3 separate regions of the Homo sapiens genome follow, and all the other regions are linked to region 1. Evidence: promoter capture Hi-C in 16 types of primary human blood cells and fetal thymus (Javierre and others, 2016). All regions are on one chromosome and are shown on one strand. Each heading gives the region's core, a stretch centred on a gene start or on the middle of the fragment in contact. The rest is flanking DNA. Distances are from core to core; before and after follow the strand shown. Region 1 holds the start of ADCY4 (adenylate cyclase 4). Region 2 has its middle 50 kb from the start of GZMB. Region 3 overlaps DHRS4-AS1 (DHRS4 antisense RNA 1).

Region 1 (2,971 bases), core at 238-2,737:
GCTTCTGCTAACACAATTCTGGAGAGGAGCTCTGAGGGGAGGAGCACAGGGCACACCTTGACACAGCCACTGACAAGTAGAGACTTCATACTCCCCACCCACCCCCAACTTGGCCTTTCTGACAGCTAAACCCTCCTGCCACCATCACTATTTCTCTTAAAGGGCGACCGCTCGTTAACATATACAACTGCTCTGGGGTGCAAGTTGGAGACAACAACTACTTGACTATGCAACAGACAACTGCCTTGCCCACATGGGGCTTGGCACCTTCGGGCAAGGGGAGGGGCTTGCAGCACCCCCCACCAGTAGGTTCGCAAGAAGGCCCTAAAGATCCTGAAGCCTGGAGCAGGCCACAGGGTTGGTATAATCATAGCGGGAAATAAAGCACCTTCCAAGCTTGCCTCCAAGAGTTACGAGTTAAGGAAGAGTGCCACCCCTTGAGGCCCCTGACTTCCTTCTAGGGCAGTCTGGCCTGCCCACAAACTGACTTTGTGACCTGTCCCCCAGGAGTCAATAAACATGATGGAATGCTAGTCAGTCTGAGCTCAGCCAGGGGCAGGGAGGGACTGGGATGGGGGTGGGAGCTGCCAGTGAGGGATAGGGAGGCACCACAGCTCTGCTATGGCAGGAAGTGGGGATGCTGGGGGCTGGGAGTGGGCAATGGCCTGGCACACAAGGTCAGGGCACAGCCGGCTACAACAGGAAGGAATCCTAGAGGCCTGGTTCCCCAGACCACTCTCTAATCTCAGGGCAGTGCTTCCTCTAAAGCCTAGGATGGCGACCCCACCCTAACCCTAAACTCTGGGGATAGAGGCTGTGGTCCCTTTTCTTCCGGGCTCTCAAGACTCACTTGCAGGGCTCTGGCGAGGGATGAGTTGATGTGAAAGATCACAGACCTGGCCCCGCACGGTGCCCCCAGGCTCTTAGAGATCATGACGCCACATACCTGCCTCCACCACACACTCAGGTTGCTTCCTGGACATTGCTTCCCTTTTGATTCCCAGTTGCTGTTCGGGAGTGGAAAGCTATGGCTCCTAAAGCTATACACAGGCGCAACCCCTCCCACGGAGCATGAACAGTTCAAACCCGGTGGTAGTGGTTGCCAGCCAAGCGGAGAGGTCAAGAGAATGAGCGCCCCCAACTCTGACCTAGATCCCCACCAGGACCCACATTCTTCCCTACATTCTCGCCAGGCTTCAGCCCCCCGCCCTCGGTCTCCCCACTACCAAACGTTCACCTCCATTTGGACACATCCCATTGGGTCCACCCCAGCCCACCCCTTCGCATCTCTCCCAGGGTCCACATTGCCCTTCCCTGAAGGGGCTGAAGCGGGGAGGCGATGGTGTTAGGAGAGACAAAACCAAGTGCGGGAGGAGACCAGGGGAGTCCGGCTTTGGCACAGGAAGGGGCCGGGCTGTCCCGTCGGGGAAGTGGGAGGGGGCCGCGGCGCCGGGAGGGAAGCGCCTGTCGCCCGGGACTCTGAGCCAGAGCGCAGCGGCGAGCGTGACTCCGCCATCAGGTCCCCGGCTCCCTCCCCGGACCTAGCCCACTCCGCTGCGCCAGCGCCGCGGGCAGTGAGTTCGGGGATCAGGGGAACCCGGGGCTCCCTCGCACCAACCCCAAATCCTGCCCTCCTGGCGATGAGGCTTTTCTAGGGCACCTCTACAATCCGGGTTTGAGGGAGGAGGAGGAAAGGACTGAGGGATCCCCTCATCGCCAGCTGGGAGCGGGCTGGGAGGCCGCAGGGAGGGCCTGAAAAAGGAGACGGGATTGCCACGAGGTTGGGGGCGCGGGGTGGTAGCGGCTTTGAGCGGGTGAGAAAAGCTCAGGTGGGGCCCGCCGGGCCGAAGGAGGTAACCCGGCGCCCGGCCCTAGCCAGCCCCGGGGCTCGGGGCTGGGGAGATCATGGCCCGCCTCTTCAGCCCCCGGCCGCCCCCCAGCGAAGACCTCTTCTACGAGACCTACTACAGCCTGAGCCAGCAGTACCCGCTGCTGCTGCTGCTGCTGGGGATCGTGCTCTGTGCGCTCGCGGCGCTGCTCGCAGTGGCCTGGGCCAGCGGCAGGGTGAGCCGAGCCTCTGCTGCGGGAGGGTCTCTACCTGGGGAGCATTTTCGGGGTTGGGGTTTGTGGGGTCTTCTTTTCGATGTGTTTTCGTTGCTGGGAGCAGAGAAAGAAAGGACCATTGAGCCTGGCTAGGAACTGCAGTGACCCTGGGCAAGTCACTCTACCCTTCTGGGTCTGCTCAGGGAGAAAGCTGAGTCCTGGATGCTTCTCGTTTCTGTCCGGGTTCTGACAGACTTTATGAACATCCGTGGTCTACGGGTTCTACAATAAATCCATCACCGGATTTTCCAGTTTTCCAAAGGGGAAATTCTAGGAGGCCCCTGGGGAATTCATTTCCTGCCTTTCTCTCCCTCTTAGGGGATGTAGAGCAGTTGTACCCACAGACTCCCAGAAGGCACCCTCCACCGGGCTCTCACTGAGTCCCAAAGTAAACCCATGTCCAGTTTCTGTTTGGGGAGGAAGAAGGTCTTCAATCCAATTCTAGAAATGGCCTGCCCCTGGTTTTCTTTTCACTGCTTGGAGGCAAGGTGGGAAAATCACCGGGCGCGGCCAATCCTTGCTGGTCCACGCCTAAATCCGGGAAGAGGTGGGGACAAAATGCTGGGACGGCTGTGCAGCTTCTGCTTGGAGTTGAGGCAGGTGGCGAGATCGCAGCCCTGGTGGCCAGGGAGGTGCGGGACGCCGCGGGTCCTGGCGCCCCCTGCTGCTCGAGCGCTGCCTCGCGCCGCCCTTCAAGCTGCCGGCCGCGGTCCCCGGCTCCGGGAATCTCCCGAGCAAATTGGCCAGATTTGGAGACATTCATTCCGAAGTGCCTCCTTGTGAGCTTGGATCTATCTTTCACTTGCTTCATGACGCTTTGGTTCCCGTTTGACAGATAAGAAAACTGAGGCTCAGAAACAAATAGGGG
Region 2 (2,935 bases), core at 160-2,659, 350 kb before region 1:
GCACCCATTAACTCGTCATTTAGCATTAGGTATATCTCCTAATGCTATCCCTCCCCCCTCCCCCCACCCCACAAGAGTCCCCAGAGTGTGATGTTCCCCTTCCTGTGTCCATGTGTTCTCATTGTTCAATTCCCACCTATGAGTGAGAACATGCGGTGTTTGGTTTTTTGTCCTTGCAATAGTTTGCTGAGAATGATGGTTTCCAATTTCATCCATGTCCCTACAAAGGACATGAACTCATAGCTAATGAAACATTTCGAGATCCAAAAGCTTACAATCACCACTTGTCCAGAAAAATGTTGCTGATACATTTGATGTGTAGTCTACAGGGGCTTTTACTGTCCTTTAGAGAAGTAGATTTCTTTTGATTTACCCAAGTGTATAAATTTCTAATACTGATCTTTCTGTCACTCTGAACCTACTATTGACTTGACCATGTAGAATAGAAACCCAGTGTCTGTGTAGGAACCAGGACGTTGCAGGGTTTGGGGCAGGGACTAACAAGATATAGTTTGCATGCTTCAAAGATCTCTCTGTCTTCTGTATGAGGAATTTATTCTAGGGAGGCAAGAATAGAAGCAGGGAGACAAGTTAGAAGATTATTAGGATGATGGTGCTGGCGATGGTAAGAAATCGGGATGTATATTGAAGGTAGAACCAGCAGAATTTACTCATGCATTGACTATGAAAGGGAAAAGCGAATCAAATAAAACTTGGAGGTTTCCTCCTGATTACCTGGGAGAATACTGATGGTATTTATTGAGGTATGGAAGGCAGGGCATAACAGGTTGGGGTGAACAGAGCACTCAGGAGTTTTGTTTAAGGCATATTAAATCTGAGATGCTTATTGGACATCTCAATAGCAATGTTGGGTAGGCAGTTAAATATATGTTTGGTGCTCAAAAGGAAGAGATGCCAGTGCTAAAGACATACATCTGGGAGTCTTAGAAGATTGTATTATTGACCCCAGCTATTTGCTCTCTTTCTGGTCATGTGACTTTTTCTTCCAGGGATGACTATACCTTCCTTCCTCATGGAATTTATGAGCATGTTCTGGCCACCCAGATGTAAGTTTCCTATGTCAAACTAGAAGTTTCTGATGTGATTATCTGGTTTACCTCTGTTTCTATTGTTCCTGCTCTCCACACTATAAGAACAATATGTCCAAGATAAGGGTGGCTACATCAGTTCTGGGTCCTGAAATAAAAAGACGCATGGACTTGAACACAGTCAAGCTGAGCTGAGTCACAGATAATCCCTCAGCCCTCATGTAACATGAACAAGAAATCAATAAATGTTTATTGTTGTTAAATACTGATATGTTGGAGTTATTTGCAACCTCAGTAAAGGCCAACTAATAAAAAAATTGGTAACAGAAGTGCTACCATATCTAAAAATATAAAATATGAGGCATTAACTTTAGGGCTAGGTAGCAAGGGAATTCTTCCAGGAGGTTGGACAAGTAAGATTCATGATATGCAGTCGTGAAAAGTTTGGTCAAATTGTGTCTTCTAAACTTGGAAGGCAGATAATGTTCCTAATGGACTTGCTGCATATGGACAAATATAGAAGGATTGAAAAATTGAAAGAGAGCATGATGGTAATATGAATAAGAGGTGAGCTCAGAAAGAATTCACCTATTTCAATGAATGAGATGGAAAATAGGCAGCAAAGAAATTCTGGGCCTTCAAGTTTGGACAATAAAATCCTTCTCACCTCCCACCTATAAAATATAAAATTTAAGTATTCCTTGAAATAGAAAGGCCTTTTAATACTCCATCTCAGGGCAAAGACAGAACCAAAGGTGTCATCATCAGGCCTATGTTAAGATTTCTGGTTGGATTAAGGTGACTTGCAGACATTTTTTTTTCCACCACTGGACAAAACGGCTCAGGGAAAAGAGATCAAGAGTACGTTCCTATGAAAGCATGATATACCCACATACCCATAATCAAGTCTAGAGAAAGTCTTTCTTGAAATGAGTAATGGTTGTGTCTATTGGAACATGGATCCAACCAGTACCAAATAGATTAAAACAATACAACAAAGTGTTTGAGAGAGTTAGGTTGTCAAAAGTGCTGCCAGTCTGTGACTATTTGAAAAGCAAAGTTGGCCCTTAGGCTAATTTGCTTTTAAATGACTTTAGAGATGGGGTCTTTTTCTGTCACACAGGCTGGAGTGCAGTGGTGTGATCACAGCTCACAGCAACCTCAACCTCCTGGGCTCAAGTGATCCTCCTGCCTCAACCTCCCAAAGTGCTGGAATCACAGGTGTCAGCCAGCCCTTAGGCTAAGTTTTTATGGGCAAGAATATGATGTATTCTGAGGGAAGAAAATATATGTGATCAATGTTGGATCATGATAGATTATTATTCCCAATTATTTGTTCCCATAGTCTAATAGGATGATTTATCCTCACTCACTTTCTGTCATGTGAGTTGTCTTCCCTCTTCGGAGAGACAATGTGTCTCCACTTCACATATTTGGATACATGAAATAATTCAGTTAATAAGATGTGAGGACATGTACATATCTGAGAAAAAGCTTTAAATATGATTTCATGGTTTGTGTTGCACTCTCTTGCTCTATTTTCCACAATAAGACAACGTATTCCAGAAAAGGGCTCTTCAATCTAGGATAAGTCACACTGAGTTTAGCAAAGCTAAGCAGAGCCACAGCTGACCCACAGCCTTAGCGTAAATGGTCAAGAAATAAATCGTTTTTGTAAGGCAGTGAGATATTGGGGCTACCTGCTACTGTGACAGTAGTTAGTTAACACAGGAGTCATCTGTGTATGGGTAATGTATTTAAGGCCATAGAACTCAATGAGATTACATAGGGAATAAGCACAGATAAAGAGACAGACTGAGCCTGGGAAGAGGAGACTCCAGGAAAACAGACTGAGAAACCATGGACAAAGATGTTAGAAGGAAGCA
Region 3 (2,700 bases), core at 2-2,501, 390 kb after region 1:
GTTTTAAATTCTCTATGTGAAATCAGAGTGACTGATGACAACCTTGACCACTGTGTGTGTTGCATAGTTACACTTCAGTTTTCTGGCATTGTTGGGCAATCCATAGTTTTCATAGAAATCAATTTTCTCTCAACTGGAATTTAAACTTTCAGGATCAGTGTGTTTTTCAAATCAACACATCTACTCATTAAATTATATAAATAACACATTATTTTAAAAAGGGACAGAAAATTATTTGAAAAGTAAAAGGTAACTCTTCCCTATGGTTCTTTTACCTTCTTCCCATATAGCTCTTGGCTTTGTGTATCCTTCCAGAAGTTTCCTGTACATTTACATGCATTTTTCTTTTAAAAATTTTTTCCACAATTGAAATGACACTATACATACTGTCCTTCAAATTTCTTTTCTTTTCTTTCTTCTATGCTCCAATCCCCACTTTTTAATTTCTTTTTTTAAATAATTATACTTTAAGTTCTGAGATACACTTGCAGAATGTGCAGGTTTGTTACACAAGTGTACATGTGCCATGGTGGTTTTCTGCACCCATCAACCCATCATCTACATTAAGTATTTCTCCTAATGCTATCCCTCCCCTAGCCCCCCACCCCCCTGAAAAGGCCATGGTGTGTGATATTGCCCTCCCTGTGTCCATGTGTTCTCATTGTTCAACTTCCACTTATGAGTGAGAACGTGCAGTGTTTGGTTTTCTGTTCTTTCATTAGTTTGCTGAGAATGACGGTTTCCAGCTTCATCCAGGTCTTTGCAAAGGACATGAACTCATCATTTTTTATGGCTGCATAATATTCCATGGTGTATATGTGCCACATTTTCTTTTTCCAGTCTATCATTGATGGGCATTTGGGTTGGTCCAAGGTTTTTCTATTGTGAACAGTGCTGCAATAAACATATATATGCATGTGTCTTTATAGTAGAATGATTTATAATCCTTTGGATATATACCCTGTAATGGGATTGCTGGGTCAAATGGTATTTGTAGTTCTAGATCCTTGTGGAATGGCCACACTGTCTTCCACAATGGTTGAACTAATTTACACTCCCACCAACAGTATAAAAGCGTTCCTATTTCTCCACATCCTCTCCAGCATCTGTTGTTTCCTGACATTTTAATGATTGCCATTCTAACTGGTGTGAGATGGTATCTCATTGTGGTTTTGATTTGCATTTTTCTAATGAGCAGTGATGATGAGCATTTTTTCATGTTTCTTGGCTGCATAAATGTTTTCTTTTGAGAAGTATCTGTTCACATTCTTAGCCCACTTTTTGATGGTTTTTTTTTCTTGTAAATTTAAGTTTTTTGTACATTCTGGATATTAGCCCTTTGTCAGATAGATAGATTGCAAAAATTTTCTCACATTCTGTAGGTTCTCTGTTCACTCTAATTATAGTTTCTTTTGGTGTACAGAAGCTCTTTAGTTTAATTAAGTCCCATTTGTCTATTCTGGCTTTTTTTGCTGTTGCTTTGGGTATTTTAGTCGTGAAGTCTTTGCTCATGCCTATGTCCTGAATGGTATGTCCTAGGTTTTCCTCTAGGGTTTTTATGGTTTTAGGTCTTATGTTTAAGTCTTTAATCCATCTTGAGTTAATTTTTTTATAAGGTGTAAGGAAGGGGTCCAGTTTCAGTTTTCTGCATATGGCTAGCCAGTTTTCCCAACACCATTTATTAAATAGGAAATCTTTTCCTTATTGCTTGTTTTTGTTAGGTTTGTCAAAGATCAGATGGTTGTAGATGTGTGGTGTTGTTTCTGAGGCCTCTGTTCTGTTCCATTGGTCTAGATATCTGTTTTGGTACCAGTACCATGCTGTTTTGGTTACTGTAGCCTTGCCGTATAGTTTGAAGTGAGGTAGCATCATGCGTCCAGCTTTGTTCTTTTTGCTTAGGATTGTCTTCATTATATTGGCTCTTTTTTGGTTCCATATAAAATTCAAAGTAGTTTTTTCCAATTCTGTGAAGAAAGTCAATGGTAGCTTGATGGGGATAGCATTGAATCTATAAATTACTTTGGGCAGTATGGCCATTTTCACGATATTGATTCTTCCTATCCATGGGCATGGAATGTTTTTCCATTTGTTTGTGTCCTCACTTATTTCCTCGAGCAGTGTCTGTATTTCTCCTTGAAGAGGTCCTTCACATCCCTTGTAAGTTGGATTCCTAGGTATTTTATTCTCTTTGTAGCAATTGTGAATGGGAGTTCACTCATGATTTGGCTCTCTATTGTCTGTTATTGGCGTATAGGAATGCTTGTCATTTTTGCACATTGATTTTGTATCCTGAGACTTTGCTGAAGTTGCTTATCAGCTTAAGGAGATTTTGGGCTGAGACGATAAGGTTTTCTAAATATACAATCATGTCATCTGCAAACAGAGACAATTTTACTTCCTCTCTTCCTGTTTGAATACCTTTTATTTCTTTCTCTTTCCTGATTGCCCTAGCCAGAACTTCCAATACTATGTTGAATAGGAGTTGTAGTTGTGAGAGGGCATCCTTGTCTCGTGCCTTTTTTCAAAGGGAATGCTTCCAGTTTTTGCCCATGCAGTATGATACTGGCTGTGGCTTTGTCATAAATAGCTCTTATTATTTAGAGATACATCCCATCAATACCTAGTTTATTGAGAGTTTTTAGCATGAAGGGGTGTTCAATTTTATCGAAGGCCTTTCTGTATCTAAATAATTAATCATGT

Evidence for each region. The method cuts DNA at HindIII sites, captures the fragments that hold promoters and counts their contacts. A CHiCAGO score of 5 or more calls a contact.
Region 2: a contact is called between a fragment that was not itself captured here and the fragment with the promoter of ADCY4 in region 1, in 1 of 17 cell types (fetal thymus). The highest score is 5.0, in fetal thymus.
Region 3: a contact is called between a fragment that was not itself captured here and the fragment with the promoter of ADCY4 in region 1, in 1 of 17 cell types (activated CD4 T cells). The highest score is 5.0, in activated CD4 T cells.

What each region holds. Positions count from the first base shown.
Region 1 is chr14:24,333,587-24,336,557 of GRCh38, reverse strand. It overlaps ADCY4 (adenylate cyclase 4), which reads left to right and starts at 1,487. Exons shown (of 25, transcript NM_001198568.2): 1 at 1,487-2,064. The coding sequence starts at 1,906. RIPK3 (receptor interacting serine/threonine kinase 3) reads left to right here. Exons shown (of 10, transcript NM_006871.4): 10 at 163-533. The coding sequence ends at 383. RefSeq lists silencers at 1,781-1,860, 1,931-2,090, 2,751-2,850. The HindIII fragment of the contact is 4,552 bases long and covers 399-2,971 here.
Region 2 is chr14:24,683,198-24,686,132 of GRCh38, reverse strand. No RefSeq gene overlaps it. Among named protein-coding and RNA genes, the nearest start is that of GZMB, 50 kb to the right of the region's middle. The HindIII fragment of the contact is 2,273 bases long and covers 273-2,545 here.
Region 3 is chr14:23,947,356-23,950,055 of GRCh38, reverse strand. The region is part of intron 1 of DHRS4-AS1 (DHRS4 antisense RNA 1); the gene reads left to right. Among named protein-coding and RNA genes, the nearest start is that of DHRS4, 5.1 kb to the left of the region's middle. The HindIII fragment of the contact is 7,541 bases long and covers 1-2,700 here.